Linked DNA regions of Homo sapiens: regions 2, 3, 4, 5 and 6 are each linked to region 1. Evidence: promoter capture Hi-C in 16 types of primary human blood cells and fetal thymus (Javierre and others, 2016). All regions are on one chromosome and are shown on one strand. Each heading gives the region's core, a stretch centred on a gene start or on the middle of the fragment in contact. The rest is flanking DNA. Distances are from core to core; before and after follow the strand shown.

Region 1 (2,750 bases), core at 128-2,627:
ATATTTTTAATGTTAGTAGCTGATTCTAGATATAAATTAGCTCCCTTTGTGCTCATTTTACTTGCCTCTTTTTTTTTTTTCTTTGAGATTGCGTCTCACTCTGTTGCCCAGGCTGAAGTGCAGTGTTAAGATCATAGCTAGGGAGCCTCGAACTCCTGGGCTCAAGCGATCCTCTCACCTCTGCCTCCCAAGAAGCAGGTGCGCACCACCATGATAGGCTAATTTGTAAAACATTATTTTGTAGATACAGGGTCTTGCTGTGTTACCCAGGCTGGTCTGGAGTTCCTGGCCTCAAACAATACCCCTTTCTAGGCCTCCCAAAGTGCTGGGTTTACAGGCATGAGCCACCGTGCTGGCCTTTTCTGACTTTTAAACAACCCCGCAGCGTAATCTTTGCATTCCTATTTTACAGATAAAGCAACAGAAGCCTCCAGCGACTAAGTTAAACTTTCCTGGGGTCACAAGGTTTACAAGTGGCTGAATAGGATTTCTACAGACTGGTTCCTTCACCCGGCTGCCCGCCGAAGTAAGCGGGCCTTACTGCCCTAATTCTCAATAGGACCCCAAAGAGGACGCTTCTTTGCTCCTGAAGGGATGGCACCCTCTGGATTCGCGGTAACAGCAAATGGGGCTCTCACTCCTACCATCTCAGTGACAGTTTAAAGCGCACCCTACCGCAGGAAAGTGCCCATATTTGCACACACGCGGCAGAGGGCAGGGCTGAAAAGGGGCCCTAGGGTGCAGGGGGCGCGCCCTCACCCGGGGACCCCGCATTTTACAATATTAGCTCCACCGAGGCGCACGGAACCGCAGGCGAGCAACTGACCTTCGGCTCCAGCGGCCCCAAAGCCGGGGGTGGGAACGCGCGACCCAGGTAGCGGCATGGACTCCGAGCCTGGCCCCTCGGGGGTTAAAACTCCCCAGACATAAAGGCTCCGGACGACAGAGGTGCAGCCGCCGCGTGCCCGTGGGACACTGAAACTCTTCCCTTACCTTCCTCGGTAGTCCTGTGAGGGAGGCTGGCCCGGCCGGCTGCCCTACGGTGCGGACAGGAGGTCGCGGTCGGGAGGGGCCCTGCCCGGCGGTTGCTGCTGGAACCAGCCCCCGCAAGGGCCCGCAGCGGCCGGGCCGTTTACCTCAGACCCGCGCCGCAGCCTCCCGGAGCCCGCGCCCAGGACTCCCTCACGACCTCTCCAGGGTCCCGGCCCGACACCAAGGGGCAGGTGAGGGGTGGAACCTGGAGGCACCCGCGCCAGGGCCCCTGAGGGAGGCGGGAGGGGGACAGCCTCAGTCCTGACTCGCAGCCGAGGCGCGACGACTCCGCGCAGTCCCGCCTGTGGAGGGGCGTGCCTCATCGCTTGCTAACCGAGAGGCGAAGGGCAAGGGGCGAAGGGCAAGCGCCGGATCCTTTCGCCCCCTCCCCACGTGAGGCCCTGGAGGCTGATTGGCCGTGTGCTGCGGAGGCGGCAAGAGGAACGTGTCCTGGCACGTGCCGAAGGAGCGCTAAAGGCCAGGGGCGGTCCCACCCGCGAAGCCCTGGAAGGCGGATTGGCTGCGCGAGGAAGTGGCGTGTCCTCACTTGAGCTGTCTGGGAGCGAGAGTAAGAGATAAAGGCAAGGGCGCCTGACCGGGCCTGGGCACCTCCTCCCACTGCGGGCAAAGGGCAGGCAGTTCGTGCGCGGACACAAGCACTGGCGGACCGTGGCCATGGCGGGCGCTGAGTGGAAGTCGCTGGAGGAATGCTTGGAGAAGCACCTGCCGCTCCCCGACTTGCAGGAAGTGAAGCGCGTTCTCTATGGCAAGGAACTCAGGTCCGCAGCCAAGAGGCTAAGCTAATGGGGTCTTGGGGCCACAGAGTGTGGGTCTGGGGGAGCAGGCAGGGAGGGCCTCAGGGTCTGAAGGGCTCAGGGGAGGCGGTGAGAAGTCCTGAGTTGGCGGGCAGAGACCATAGTAGGTCTTGATGGGACGGCCCCGGGGTCCTTGGGGGTTGCAGAATCCTGGCGTGACCTTTACAAATCTCTTCTCCCCCACGTTGCCCAGAACCGGAAGGAAAAGGACGGGATTTTACTCTCCAGGGCTTTCTCTGTGGCCATCCCAACCCTCCTCCCCGGAGCCGGGCTTGTCTTCTGGATGTCTGGCTGGATCACTGTCTCCAACCAGAGCACCCAGCAGGTGTACTGATTGTCCGGCCCCAGACCATCCTTCTTGCGGTGACCCGACCTCTGGCTGACCCTTGGAAATAGAGGCTGTCTGCATTTAGTTGGCGAGGGAACCTTTCCCACTGGCAAGCCATGGGCGCTGGTTTTTCCACTCCCTGCAAGCTTGTGCATCACCAGGACTTTCTGAGGGCTGTATACTGCTGGACACTGTGTCCACAAAGCTGAAAAAGACACTTCCTGGCCGGGCTCACACCTGTAATCTCAGCACTTTGGGAGGCCAGGGCTGGAAGATTGCTTGAACTCAGGAGTTCGAGACCGGCCTGGGCAACATAGTGAGACACCCATCTCTATAAAGCATTTAAAAAAATAGCCAAGCATGGTAGCATGCATCTGTAGTCCTAGCTACATGGCAGGCTGAGGCGGGAGGATCACTTGAGCTTGGGAGGTCGAGGCTGCAGTGAGCCAAAATCTCTCCTCTGCACTCCAGCCTGGGAGTCAGAGTGAGGCCCTGTCTCAAACACACACACACACACACACACACACACACATACACACACACACACACACACACGTCTTTGGATTTGGAGCTTA
Region 2 (2,750 bases), core at 79-2,578, 250 kb before region 1:
CCGCTGTGGCCCCTCTCCACCACGCCCTCATCCAGGACACCAAGTATCAGTCACTCAGCTCACGAGACCCAGGCCCTGACTCAGGGAGAGAGGATGTGAGGGGTGGGGCACCGGGCTCCTCAGGACTGAGAGACCCGAGATGTGGCCCCAGGCTGGGTGTTGGGGCAGACTGGCTATGGCAGCATTGTGTGTACCCCAGCAGGCCAGTACCCACGCAGGGAGCCTCCAAACCCCTTCACCCATGACCCTGGGAGAAGACCGCAGCCTTGGAGAATTGGCCTCACTGAAGGGGCCTGCACCGGCCAGCAGGGTCAGGCGGGGCCAGACAGGTTCCCACCTGGGATATGCAAATGGGCCTCCTGAATCCTGGAGCCAGGCGTGGACTCACACACCACCATTGTCCCCAAGTCCCCATCTGCCCCACGAGCACACCCTGCCACCTGTTCTGTGCAAGGGCCCTGAGGCTGCCTCCTTGCGCCCAAGACCTGCAGGTGCTGAAGCCCACACACACACGGCTCCTGCTTCCTGGGCCAGTGCACGTGCACACACACACACACACACACCCACCCACACATACACATACCCACACACAATCACACACATTCACACACACCCACACTCCCCACACTCACACTCACATACACTCACACACACCCACACATGCATGCAATCACACATACCCAGACACTCACACACACACCCACACATACATTCACTCACACACACACACACACACACGCCTTCTCCAGGAGGGGCTGGCTGCCAAGGGCCACCCAGCTTCCTCCCACGTCTCACTCACCGTCCAATATCCGAGCAGACCTTGGAGTCGGCGGCAACAGCAGCGTGGGCAAAGGCCTGGGGGCCACATGGGGCCTGGTGTCGAGAGAGGACCACAGCCAGCACAATGACAGCCAGCGCCAGCCCCAGACCCAGCAGGACTAGGCTGACCGTGGCCCCGTAGCCCCGGGCCATGGCTCTGCAGCCCAGGAGGAGAGGGGCGGCTGGTGGGCAGACGGAGGGACGGATGGGTGGGCAGATGAATGGACAAGAAGATGCACAGAGTCACAGGTAATTGGACAGATGGACAAACAGGTGGGGGCTGAAGACAGACACGAAGATGGATCGACAGATAGGCCAGATAGCTAGACAAAGAGGACAGTAAGAGAAAGATGGTCAGATAGACAATGGGACAGAGATGGGCTTACAGATGGGCGGACAGACAGACAGGTCTGAACAGCGGGCTGCCAGATGGACAGATGGGTGAATGGACAGATGGCTGGCAGCTGTGGCGAGCTGCTGCCCTCACCAAGTGCACACTACGGAGTGGCCAAACTCACGCCTCAACTTCTGGTTTTCAGCTCCTGCTTGTTGCTGGCAGGAGGCCAGGCAGCAAAGCGTCTGAGGGGAGTTTTCCTTGCCTAGAGGAGTCAGCTGCTGTGTTAACTCCCTCACTGCTAGTAGGTCCAAAGGCCCCACCTACCGCCCGCCAGAGCCCAGGGTCACACTGTCGCAATGTGCAGGAGAACTTGGTGCCTGCTGCACTGCGGTTGCCAGGTAGGGGCAGGGCTCCCTGGAACCTCCACACCATTCCCCGGGTTCCCGGCAGCTCTGGGAAAGCAGAGCTGGGGCCGCTCAACTCTCTCCCCTGGATCCGGCAAGGCTGCCCCCCTCCCAGAGTGGAGCCCTGCTCCCCAGCTCCCATCTCTATCCCCTAACCCTCTCCTCATGGCCCAGCCTAGTCAGCATCAAGGTGGAGCTGAACAGAGGCAGAGGGAGGGGGACACAAGGTGGTGTCACTTAAAACTTGGGTTCAAGTCCTTATGCTTCTGCAGCCTGGCCTGGGTCCCACAACTCCCCAGGGTGGCCAAGGGCTTCCCAGTCTGCACAGAGGACAGGGGGACTTGACAGCATCAAATGCTGGTGACTACAAGACGCCCATGTGGGGAATGCAGACAGACCATGCCTCTAGCCCTTGGCATCCGGGACCATTTGTCCAGGACTTGCTGTCCTGGAAATGCAGCATGGACCTCCAGGGAGGGAGGCTGTGTGGAGGCCACGCCCTGCCTGTAGCTCTTTCCCACCCTAGCTGCGGGTCTGCTTCCCTGAATCCAAATCCGCTATTACTGTGCTGGCAGCGCAGCCTCTCTAGGGACACTGGCCTGGCTCTGTTCTCCCCAGGCCTCAGGGTGCCTAAATGGGAGGCAGCCAGGAGAGTGAGGACCCACTGAGGGGCTCTGTTGACCAGGCTCAGCAGGGGTGCAGGTGATGTGGGCTGGACTTCTTCCCACGTGGCCCCCACAGTCCTCCCCGCTTCCTCCCCAGCTGAACACTGCCTGCTCCAGATGTCTACACCTGGAAGCCGGGCCCCCCCATCTGGGCAGCAGAGAAACTGAGGCACAGAGACAGACTGTGTCCTTACAGGCCACACAGCCTGCCAGGCCCCTATGTCCAGCCAGAGCCCCTGGTCAGCCTGGACTGGAATGATTGTTTAGAGGCAGGCTGTTCCCACGGCTGCCTCTCGCGGTGGGGGGCCTGTGGATGCCTCCTCCCGCCCCCACCCGACTCCCAAGCCTCAGTGACATTGCTCAACCAGGAGCTGAAGTGCATTCCTGGGCTTAGGCCAGCCCACCCACCCACCCGCTGCAGTCCTGGAAGCTCAGAGGCCTGGGCAGCAGGAACAGTGGAGACAGCAGCGTGGGGGACGTCCCCCCTCCTCTCCCCACCATCCTGGTCAGGCAGAGGCCAGGGTG
Region 3 (2,750 bases), core at 89-2,588, 210 kb before region 1:
CATGGTAGTCTATTCTTGACACTTGCTGTTAGTAGTAACCTTTTACTGAAAGTCAAAGTTTGCTTATGTCTTACAGTACTGTTCTGAAAGTTTACTTTTTAAAAATGAGAATGAAATATTGGGAAGAAACATCATAGTTATTTTACATATTCTGTTTTTTTAGTACCTGATTGGTTATGTTATATTGACATTCTCGCATGTAATTACACTTTATTGCTTGAACTTGCAATACATTGCTCCTGAGATAAAGACATAGGTGAAGCTTATCCTAAGTTGGTAACAGCAAAATTATTGTATTAATAATTGAGTCATATGGTGTGTTTCGGCATTTTAACAAGGAAGTATGGACCATGACATTTTGAATTTGAAAGGAAGTACTTTTTACTGCTTTCCTCTTTTTCTGTCTTATATCTTTGTCCTACCACTAAGAAGTGAGTAAAGTTCTAGACTCAGTTATAGGATATCTTAATAACAGGCCGTGAACTGTGTCACTGATTAACTGACCTATCTAGTAAGAGTTAGGATTTACTTCTGACATTCATGTACTTTTTGCAGTAATTCAGGCTATTCACATCATAGCTTTGCTTTTGTCTGTTTTTCAAGTAAGAGGCTGAGGCAGAAGAATCATTTGAACCCTGCAGGCAGAGGTTACAGTGAGCTGAGATCGCGCCACTGCACTCCAGCCTGGGCTACAAAGCGAGACCCTGTCTCCAAAAAAATGAAAATTAAAAATAAGTAAATGTGAATTTCAGATAAATAGTGATGACTTTTTTGGTCTAAGTATACCCTAAATGTTGTCTGGATAAAAGACACTTAGGTGAGTGCTGTGGCCAGAAAGGTAAGAGGGATGGGGGGCCAACCAACTAGAGACAAGGGAAGGTATCACTAAGGACACGGCAGTGGAGCTGAGTCCTGAAGTGATGCACGAGCAGTTATTTCTCAGGGAGGAAAGTGGTAAGGGGTTTTCAGGGGTAGGAACAGTAGGAGCCAAAGTGTGGGTATGTGAGAGTGTGTGACTATGTGTGCACGTAAAATGGAAATGAGATGGAGGGATGGGTTGGAGCCTGGATTTGAAGAAGCAGGTATCGGCGCTGGGGTATTTGGCCTGGGACAGTGAGGCATTATTTTACAGGAGAGTGGCCTGGTGGGATGTGTGCTTTAGAGTGTGGACACACAGCTGTGGCACAGAAGGATTGCTGGCAGGGGAGGGCGACAGGAGGCTGCCAGAGTTGTCCAGCTGGACTTCTTCCCTGACACAGACAGGCTGGCATAGGATTGGTGTGGTAGTGGGGATGGGAAGGAGGGAATGCCGCGAGGTCAGGAACTTCTTCCAGTCGCCAAGAGGCGTCTTGACCGTTTAAAAATGTCTCTGAAGATTTAGCACACCAAGGCCCCCTATAGTCCCAGGGTATAGGCCACCCTTGAGATTAGAAAGAAACCCCTGGGAGCTGTGGTGGGGTGGATGTGGCTGTTGGAGGTGCCCCTATTCAGACTCCTGCTCTACCATTTGCTTCGGGATCACCTTTTACAGTGGATCTGATATTATAATACCCACTTCTTATGATGTAAAGGAACTGAATGAGTGTGGAATCCCTAGGACCCCGCTGGAATATAATGGGCCCTCGGGGTTTAGTTTCTTTCCTTCTTGCCGGTGAGGTTTGAGAGGGACTGGAGAACAGTGGATTTCGACCATCCATTTGGGGTTGTCAGTCTGTGCCAGGCCAGCTGGAAACTACAAAAAGGAGGTACAGGTAAGCAATAAGGCCCTGTGGTTCATCTCAGATTTCATTCCGGGAGATCAGAGAGAGCCCTTCCTGGAACTGTATCCTTTCCTGGGGAATATGGGTGGAAATCCAAGGGCCCTGTGCATAGATTTTCCCTTCTCTTTCAGCTCTGCCAGCTGCCAGAACTGTGGCTTTCTCAGCAGATTGTCTGTACACATGAGACCTTTTTTACGGAACGATTTACAGAAAGACAAACCCTTCCTTCCAAGTTTAACCAGTCCCCTTATACCAAGGTTTCCCAGCCTTGACTGTATTGATATTTTAGGCTGTATAATTCTTTGTCGTGGGGGGCTGTCCAGTGTGTTGTAGGGAGTTTACTAGGATTCCTGGCCTCTTACACACTCACTGTCTGTAGCACCTTGCCTCCCACCCAGTTGTGACAACGAAAAATGTGTACAGGAAGTGCCAAATATCCCCTAGGGTACAAAATTGTCCCCTACCCCTCATTAAGTACCACTGCTTTATACTCACTAGACACAGGGAAAAAGAACTTCTTAGCATTTTTTATTAATTTCTTTTTAACCTAACCAGTGAAATGCTTGTTGAAAAAAAGACTTAGTTTTTACTACACTGAATTTGAATTCTATTTTAACTTATTTAGTTTAGAAAGACTTCTCAAATCCAAAATTTTAAGCTTTTTTTTTTTTTTTTTTTTTTTTTTTTTGGACATATCCTTGCTCTGTTGCCCAGGCTGGAGTGCAATGGCGTGATCTTGGCTCACTGCAACTTCTGCCTCCTGGGTTCAAGCGATTCTCCTGCCTCAGCTTCCTCAGTAGCTGGAATTACAGGTGTCTGCCACCACACTTGGCTAATTTTTGTACTTTTAGTAGAGACGGGTTTTCACCATGTTGGTCAGGCTGGTCTTGAACTCCTGACCTTGTGATCCGCCTGCCTTGGCCTCCCAAAGTGCTGGGATTACAGGCGTGAGCCATTGCTCCCAGCCAATTATAAGCTTTTTAGAAAGGA
Region 4 (2,750 bases), core at 109-2,608, 190 kb before region 1:
TGTCTTTGGAGGTTTACTATGGAATGTGCACTGAGCAGGCATGTTACACCTTCTGAGTCTTGGATCTGGAGTTGCTGGGAATTTGGTCTTGAACAGTGAGTACTTTTCCACTGTAAAGCAAAACTGTACACTTACTCTTGCCAGCACATGCCAGCTGTCCATAGCTTTGGCTCTGCTGCATTAACAAGTTTAAATAGGGTGTGTGTGTGTGTGTGTGTGTGTGTGTGTGTGTGTGTGTGTAGCAGGAAGGTCAGGACAGAGGTAAAACTATTTGGCAACACTTTTCCTGGAGTGGAGCAATTGCCTTCACTTAAGAGAGGGGAAGGAAAAAGTCATTAAATGGAGATTAAAGTAAAAACAGAGAAGGAAAGAAGAAAATAGTGGGAAAAAAATGGAAAACATTGAAGGGCTTTGAGACCCCACAGTGTTATTTTATTTTTCTAACTTTTTTTTTTCCTGTGCTTCTCTGGCACCTAGATACTTCCTACAATTTGAATTCCTTTAACTGTCATGGAGCATTGATGATTAACCAGATGAATGAAGTGTTTGGCTTAATTATTGAGACAGCATGTGCACACACCCATTCATTTATGGACACCCACACCTGTGTGTCTGTCACTGCACAATATTCTCATGACTCTCTTCTTGTAGTGACAGGATACAGGATATGCATTTCTTCACCTCTCATTTCAAGTATTGTTTGAGGCTAGATGTAGTTGAGGGTTAAGGGGAAGGACTCTTTTGATCCAGGACACTTCACTGCTGGTTGGAGCTTTTGTAAATACAAAACACTACTGCTGCTCACAGTGAGTTTTGGAGACATTATTCCCACTTCTGTCAGGAGCTGTGTCATTGGGCTTGCAGCCTTTGTATGCTTAATTCTCCTTGGTCACAGTCAGTGGAGAGGATTATTTTCCATGTAGAGAGGGTTTCCTGCATGCCTACGCTTTGCAGGGTTCACTTACTGTTCAGGTGTTCATGATTAGTTCTTTTGAAGTAATATACTTTTCCATTATACTGATGATAATTTTTTCTAAAAATTACAGACATGAATTAATAAGCTTCAGTTAGAATCTATAATTGATATTTCTCCATGATTATTTGTGGTCATACAGTGTAAACATTTGTTAATTGTATGAACAATCCTCCTCGGAAACTTGAAAGGTAAAATTTGATAACAAATCTTCAAATTTGAGAGAAAGATGCATGTGAAACTTGGGCTTGACTTAGAGAAGTATACGTACCTGGTTGTAGTATTTCATTATTTGTGTCCGGAATGCTTGTACCAAATTATTTGCATTTTGCATCAGTTACAAAGAGTAGGCTGAACATTTATTCCTTCATCCATTTCATGTTTTTAGACTTACTGATGGGGGGTGTTTATGTGTGAGAATGCACATGCCTTTACAGAATTTTGTAGCAAAAATTAAAAGAAATAGGGAAAAATAGCAGAGAGCCTGCTAGTAGCTTAGGGTAAAAGGTAAGTTGGAAAATGCAGAGTTGTGTTTTGTTTTGTTTTGACTTTTTTTGTTGAAGTAAAGCATACGTACAGCAAAGTCCACAAAACACAGGTGTTGAGTTTAGTGAATCATCACAAAATGAAACATGTCCTTCAGTCACCACCTAGTTCAAGAAACAGAACATATGTGCCCCTCAGAAGCTTCCACCGTGCCTCTGCTTAATCATTGCCCTTCCTGTCCTCCCCCAAAGTAACTACCATTCTAACTTCTAGCACCAGAGATGATTTTTGCCAGTTTTTGATCTTTACAGGAACGTAGTCACACACTATGTTCTTTTTATGTGTGTCTGGTTTCTTATCTGTACTGTTGCATCTAGCAGCGGTCACTTCCTTTTCATTGTTGGTTAGTAATCCATGGGATGAATATACCACAGTTTGTTCATCTCTTCTGCTATTGGCAGACTTTTACTACTATTGGCAGACTTTTGGAGTTTCTTCTCTGTGGTTATGAGTATTATTGTTATGAACATTCTTATATGTGTGTATTAATACACATGTGCACCCATTTGTGTTGGTTCTAGAATGAGGAGTGAAATTACTGGACCGTAGAGTATACCTATGTTCAGCTTTAATGTTATAGATAGAAGAAAATCATTTCTCAAGGTGGTTACCAGTTTACACTCCTGGTTACTTCACATTTTCTCCTGTACTTAAATTGTTACTCCTTTCATGTTAAGCACTCACGGATGTATAAAGGAATGGAGCAGTGGCATTAATTTGCATCGTTACCAGTAAGATTGAATACCTTTTCATACAATCTTTTTTTTTTTTTTGAGATGGAGTTTCACTCTTGTTGCCCAGGCTGGAGTGCAATGGCGCCATCTCCGCCTCCCGGGTTCAAGCGATTCTCCTGCCTCAGCCTCCCGAGTAGCTGGGATTACAGGCATGTGCCACCACGCCTGGCTAATTTTTTGTATTTTTAGTAGAGACGGGGTTTCTCCATGTTGGTCAGGCTGGTCTTGAACTCCCGACCTCAGGTCATCCACCCACCTCGGCCTCCCAAAGTGCTGGAATTACAGGCATGAGCCACTGCACCCGGCCTTATACATTCTTTTTATGTGCTCAGTGGACATTTAGACCCTCTTCTATGAAGTGCCTGTTCAAGTCACTTGCCCATTTTTCCGTTGTCTTTTTTTTTTCCAAACTTTTTTTTTTATTGTGGAAAAATACATACAACATTCATCACTTTGGCCTTTTAATTTTTAATTTTAATTTTTTAATTTTTTTAAGA
Region 5 (2,750 bases), core at 153-2,652, 160 kb before region 1:
GAGATAAATTATATAAGTGTAAATTGTGTTATTCTGATAGACTCTAATAATGATGGCTAACAACAGTTGAACACTTGCTATGTGTTCTACACTGTTCTGAATACTTTATAATGTTAACTCATTTAATCCTTACAACTCTTGGGTATTAGGTACTGTTCTTATCTGTATTTTTCACATGTGGTTACTGAGGCCCAGAAAGGTTAAGTAACTTGCCGAGGTTCATGCAATTAAGTGGTAGAGTAGGGGTTCAGAGTTAGGCTGTCTGGATTCAGTGACTTTAGTCACTACACTAAGACACAAAGGTGTCTCTTGAGTAGAATATGTGGTTGCCATGTCTCAGCCTTTACTGCATAGCAAATCACTTCAGAACTTAGTGGCTTGAAAGAACAGTTTTGTTAGTTTTCACATTTCTCTGAGTTGACTAGGCAATTCTTTGCTGGCTTTCCTGGGCTCATTCCTGCAGTTGAATTCACAGAGAAGGTGGGATGGGGCCTGGGCTCAGCAGGATTCCTGGGCTGCTTTCTTCATGTGATTTGTCTTCTCAGGCTCCTTCACAGCATGGTTATCTCCAGCTCCAAGAGACTGAAAATGAAAGTTAGCAAAGCCTCTGAAGACCTAAGCTTGGAACTTGGACAGTGACACTTCTGTCCTGCTATTTTAATCCAAGCAAGTCACAGGGCAGCTGCGATTCAGAGTGGAAGGGGTGCACAAGGCATGAATTCAGAGAAGCATGATTCATGAGGGCTGTTTTGTAACAGGTCCGGCACAGGTCATTATTGATACATTAGAAACAAGTTTTAAAAGTTGCTCCTCCGTGCCATTGTGGAATGCAGATGAGAAGCGGGGCAGAGGGCTATTCAGTAGTGCTCAAGAGGCCGCTCATTGTGCATTTTATTCAGCCGCTTTTGGACAGTATAGTTGAGGCGGAGTATTTCCACATAGGTGAGAGTAGCCAAAGGAAACATTGCCTAAACCCCATTATCCTGTGATAAAGGGTAGCCCTGGCTGCACCTCTTCCCTAAAATAATGGTGTTGGGGAGCATTTTCGAGTTGAGACATTTGTGCTGTGTTTACTAGTGTGCTCCCTCCGCATTTATATTGTGAGTTCGTGGCTTTGCATTTGCATGTATATACAAGATGTTATGTCCTTTTTTTTTTACCCCGAAACGGGGTCTCCCTCTGTCACCCAGATTGGAGTGTAGTTGCATGATCTCGGCTCACTGCACAACCTCTGCCTCCCAGGCCCAACCAGTCCTCCCACCTCAGCCTCCCAAGTAGCTGGGACCACAGGCGTGCACCACCATGCCTGGCTGTTTTCTGTGTTTTTGGTAAAGACAGGGTTCTGCCACGTTGCCCAGGCTGGTCTTGAGCTCCTGAGCTCAGGTAATCCACCTGCCTGGTCCTCCCAAAGTGCTGGGATTACAGACATGAGCTACCACGCCTGACATTATGTCGTAATTTAAAAAGAAGGGAAGGGAATACTGTTCCACCAATTTAATGACCTTTTTTTTTTTTTTTTTTTTTTTTTTGAGACGGAGTCTCACTCTGTTGCCCAGGCTGGAATGAAATGGCATGATTTCGGCTCACTGCAACCTCCACCTCCTGGGTTCAAGTGATTCTCATGCCTCAGCCTCCAAGTAGCCAGGATTACAGGTGTGCACCACCACACCCAGCTAATTTTTGTATTTTTAGTAGAGACGGTTTTAACCACGTTGGCCAAGCTGGTCTCAAATTCCTGACCTCAAGCAATCTGCCCTCTTCAGCCTTCCAAAGTGCTGGGATTACAGGCGTGAGCCACTGTGCGCAGCTGATTTAATGCTTTTTTTATGTGCTCTCTATTAATCAAACTTCATCTAAAATTCTGAAAATATAGATAAAAGCAAAATAAAGATGCCAAATGTAATAAACTTCAAATAAGATGAACTTTAAGTGGTGTTTATCAGTTGACGTTTAATGTATGAGGCATCACTTTGTAAATCTTTGTAAAGATAGGAGGTGAAAAATATTTCTACAAGTTGCAAAAAACTAATACTTATGAGCTACATTCAGTAGCTTTTTAGTACATGATTAGTTAGTACAGTGCGTCTCAAACCTAATCGTATATAAAAATCATGTGGAGAGTTTTTAAACAGGTAAAATTCCCAGACCTCATCCTGGTAAACCATAATCTCTGGGGACTGGGGCCTAAGCTTGGGATTGTTAGTTTTTCAAAACTCCCTGGGTAGGAATTCTACTTCTAGCTATGTGGGAGTAACAGGCTGGATTATTCTGCCATCACAAACAACGATTAATAGAAAGATGGACAAAATATAAGAAACAATTATTTTCAGACATTGTACGTAACTGTGATCCCTGAACAAAAATTTTAAAATGAGGTAAGTCCTACTGTGGCCCACAGTCTTTTCCTGGAGGCAATTTCCAGGTGGTGGTGCAGGGAAGATGAACCTACATGGAGCAGGGAAGAGAAAACCAATTGGATCTGAGTAGACACAAATCAACATTCAAGGAGAAGGCGACTGCTCGAATTTGCAGGGCAGATACTGGGAGGAGGGAGCTGCATAGAGAAAGGAGTATAGAAATCTGCGTAGGCATCCCTTTGAGTCTTTTCCTGAATACCAACCTGCACCTGCATTGGGTGAAACCCCACAAGGATAATTTTCCAGGAACAGCCCCGCAAGAATAATTTTCCAGGAACAATTTCCAGGAACAGGGAGCTATCACACAAACACTTCTGGTAGCTCACCTAGGGC
Region 6 (2,750 bases), core at 64-2,563, 140 kb before region 1:
CATCCTGGCAAACATGGTGAAACCCTGTCTCTACTAAAAATACAAAAATTAATTAGCTGAGCGTGGTGGTGTGCACCTGTAGTCCCAGGTACTCAGGAGGCTGAGGCATGAGAATTACTTGAACCTGGGAGGCAGAGGTTGCAATGAGCCAGGATCGTGCCACTGCACTCCAGCTTGGCAACAGAGTGAGACTCCATCTCAAAAAAAAAAAAAAAAAAAAAAGGAAACCAAGATCCAGGTGCTAAATGTGCTCATTGCTACTGGGGTTTCACAGCCTTTAGTCCCTCTCTGGATAGAACTAGGGAAATTGTATGTATATGTACCAACTCATGTGTATACACTATCCTGTCTGTCTGTCTGTCTACCTACCTATCCACCCACCCACCTACCTACCTACCTACCTATCTAACTATCTTATTTGTCTGTCTGTCTGCCTGTCTATCAAAAACTGTAAGTTTATACTCATACCTGACTCCAAGCCATCACCAATGGGTTCATTCCAGAATTTTCCCTTCCCTTACTTATAACTTCTTTCTTTTGGGGGTGAGAAACTTGGCTCTCATTATCTACAATATATTTATGTATTTGTTCAACCTTACTATACATATACAAAGTTACTTAAGCCAGTTCCTTTTTCCCTACTCACTTCAGTTGGTCTGTCATGGTTTCGTAATGCAGTCAGATTAATTTGTCATAGTCTGCATTCTGTTCTCCTCCCCTTCTCTCCCTCCCTCCCCCCGTTCTGTTTTTTTTTTAATTTACATACAGTAAAATTTACACTATCTGGTATACAGTTTTGTGGGTTTTGACAAACACATAGCCATTTGTCTGTCATCATAGTTACACAGTTCTGTACACAAGAGTTCCATCACCCCCAAAATTCCTTCATGCTGCCCCTTTGTAGTCAACCCCTACCATACACCCCATTCCCTAGCAACCACTGATATGTTTTTCATCCCTACAGTTGTACCTTTTCTAGACTGTCATATAAATCAAATCATACAGCATACAGCTTTTTTTTTAAGTCTGGCTTCTCTCACTTGGCAGCATGTTTTTATTTTGCTGTTATTGGGCAGAGTGTTTTATAAATATCAGTTAGATCTAGTTGGTTGTATTGTTCAAGTCTGGGTCTTCTGTATTTACTCATTTCTGTCTGCTCGTTTCTAGGAATTACTGAGAGAATAGTCTTGAACTCTGAAAGTCTAGTTGTGGATTTCTATTTCTCCTTTTAGTTCTATCAGGTTTTACCTCATGTATCTTAAAGTTCTGTTGGTAGATGCATACCCATTTGGGAATGTGTTATGTCTTCTTAGAGAACTAGCCCCTTTATTATTATTATTATATTTTTTAAATCTCTGATAATGTCCCTTGTTCTGAAGTCTTTCTTTTCTGATATTGATGTACCTACTCCAACCTTCTGTTAGTGCTTGCATGGTATATTTTTTTCCATCCTTTTAATTTATCTATGTCTTTAGATTTAAAGTAAGTTTCTTGTAGACGGTATATAGTTCAGTCTTTTTTATTCATTCTGACATTTTGTCTTTTAATTGGTGGATTTAGACCATTCTCGTTTAATATGATTATTATTATGGTTAGATTAAAATCTACCACCTTGTCGTGTTTTGTATTTGACCCATCTATTCTGCTTCTTTTTCCTTTTTCTGCCTTCTCTTGGGTCCATTGACCATTTGTTATTACTTTGTTTTATCTCTCCTACTGACTTATTATTTGTATCCATTAAATTCTTTCAGTGGTTGCCTTAGGTTAGGGTTTGTCAGCCTTGCCTTTATTGGCGTCCACATAACTGTTGTGGGGGATTGTTTTATGCATTACAGGAAGTTTAGCAGTATCCCTGCTCTCTACCCACCAGAGTCCCAGTATCACCCCCATCTCCCCAGTTATGACAACCAAAAAATGCCTCTAATTTTTGGTTGTCACAACTGGGGGAATGGGGGTGATACTCTAATAATCCCCTGGGGGGGCAAATTTGCCCACAGTTGAAAATCAGAGATACAGTTTTCACAGTTTTATTTGTCTAATTTCAGCAGAGAGATGGAAGCTATAAGAGAAAATCAAGTAGGAAATCCTAGCCAATCTTGCATATTGTCTGCCTTTTCCCTTAGAGACCTTGTTTCACTTAATATCATGTTTTCAAGGTTCATCCATTTTGTGGCATGAAACAATTTCTTTTTAAGGCTGAGGCTGGAAACTGGCTCACACCTGTAATCCCAGCACTCAGGGAGGCCAAGGCAAGAAGATTGCTTGAGCCAAGAAGTTAAGACTAGCCTGAGCAACATAGTGAGACTTCATCTCTATAAAAATATAAAATGATATATTAATCATAGTTATTTTAAATGCTTTATAGATAGTTCCAACATCCGTACCATTTGGTTTTATTGATTACTTTGTGTTCTGGTGTAGTGAGCTGGGTATGTTGGCTTTTTCTTGGCTTTTTGTATATTTTACAATTCTTTATTGAAAGCTAGACATCTTACATGGATAGTAGTTGATTTTATGCCTTGAAATGGACACCTTTTTTCTTCTACTTAGGTCTTTAAATGTGGGAGTTTGAGTTAATCTGCTCAGGAGCTGGGCTGGGTTTGAGGTTTATTGTTGCTGTGATTACCCTCAGGGCAGAACAGGCTTCCAGTTTCTCCAGTAAATACTTTGTGTTTAGAGTGTGGAATAGTTTTCCAGAGGGCTTTTCTTAATGCCTGCTCCAATTTCAGTTTTAGGCTGTCCTTTGCATT

The links. Contacts are between HindIII fragments. The CHiCAGO score rates a contact against its expected background, and 5 or more counts as called.
Region 2: a contact is called between the fragment with the promoter of GGT5 here and the fragment with the promoter of ADORA2A-AS1 in region 1, in 4 of 17 cell types (naive B cells, monocytes, total CD4 T cells and 1 more). The highest score is 6.1, in naive B cells.
Region 3: a fragment that was not itself captured here is called in contact with the fragment with the promoter of ADORA2A-AS1 in region 1 in 4 of 17 cell types (endothelial precursors, M0 macrophages, M1 macrophages and 1 more); the score reaches 6.2 in endothelial precursors.
Region 4: a contact is called between a fragment that was not itself captured here and the fragment with the promoter of ADORA2A-AS1 in region 1, in 13 of 17 cell types (endothelial precursors, M1 macrophages, total B cells and 10 more). The highest score is 9.7, in endothelial precursors.
Region 5: a contact is called between a fragment that was not itself captured here and the fragment with the promoter of ADORA2A-AS1 in region 1, in 11 of 17 cell types (endothelial precursors, naive B cells, megakaryocytes and 8 more). The highest score is 8.3, in endothelial precursors.
Region 6: a fragment that was not itself captured here is called in contact with the fragment with the promoter of ADORA2A-AS1 in region 1 in 4 of 17 cell types (endothelial precursors, monocytes, naive CD8 T cells and 1 more); the score reaches 5.7 in endothelial precursors.

What each region holds. Positions count from the first base shown.
Region 1 is chr22:24,493,697-24,496,446 of GRCh38, forward strand. ADORA2A-AS1 (ADORA2A antisense RNA 1) reads right to left here and starts at 1,378. Exons shown (of 7, transcript NR_028484.3): 1 at 994-1,378. UPB1 (beta-ureidopropionase 1) reads left to right here and starts at 1,636. Exons shown (of 10, transcript NM_016327.3): 1 at 1,636-1,811. The coding sequence starts at 1,708. The HindIII fragment of the contact is 15,084 bases long and covers 1-2,319 here.
Region 2 is chr22:24,243,754-24,246,503 of GRCh38, forward strand. It overlaps GGT5 (gamma-glutamyltransferase 5), which reads right to left and starts at 1,329. Exons shown (of 12, transcript NM_004121.5): 1 at 800-1,329. The coding sequence starts at 972. RefSeq lists enhancers at 110-665, 666-1,221, 2,334-2,750. The HindIII fragment of the contact is 5,279 bases long and covers 1-2,750 here.
Region 3 is chr22:24,286,197-24,288,946 of GRCh38, forward strand. The region is part of intron 2 of SPECC1L (sperm antigen with calponin homology and coiled-coil domains 1 like); the gene reads left to right. All of the region lies in intron 2 of SPECC1L-ADORA2A (SPECC1L-ADORA2A readthrough (NMD candidate)), which reads left to right. Among named protein-coding and RNA genes, the nearest start is that of SPECC1L, 17 kb to the left of the region's middle. The HindIII fragment of the contact is 2,156 bases long and covers 261-2,416 here.
Region 4 is chr22:24,303,647-24,306,396 of GRCh38, forward strand. The region is part of intron 3 of SPECC1L (sperm antigen with calponin homology and coiled-coil domains 1 like); the gene reads left to right. All of the region lies in intron 3 of SPECC1L-ADORA2A (SPECC1L-ADORA2A readthrough (NMD candidate)), which reads left to right. Among named protein-coding and RNA genes, the nearest start is that of SPECC1L, 34 kb to the left of the region's middle. RefSeq lists a silencer at 1-269. The HindIII fragment of the contact is 599 bases long and covers 1,060-1,658 here.
Region 5 is chr22:24,338,638-24,341,387 of GRCh38, forward strand. The region is part of intron 10 of SPECC1L (sperm antigen with calponin homology and coiled-coil domains 1 like); the gene reads left to right. All of the region lies in intron 10 of SPECC1L-ADORA2A (SPECC1L-ADORA2A readthrough (NMD candidate)), which reads left to right. Among named protein-coding and RNA genes, the nearest start is that of SPECC1L, 69 kb to the left of the region's middle. RefSeq lists an enhancer at 336-1,031. The HindIII fragment of the contact is 1,569 bases long and covers 619-2,187 here.
Region 6 is chr22:24,355,082-24,357,831 of GRCh38, forward strand. The region is part of intron 11 of SPECC1L (sperm antigen with calponin homology and coiled-coil domains 1 like); the gene reads left to right. The region is part of intron 12 of SPECC1L-ADORA2A (SPECC1L-ADORA2A readthrough (NMD candidate)); the gene reads left to right. Among named protein-coding and RNA genes, the nearest start is that of ADORA2A, 71 kb to the right of the region's middle. The HindIII fragment of the contact is 4,757 bases long and covers 1-2,750 here.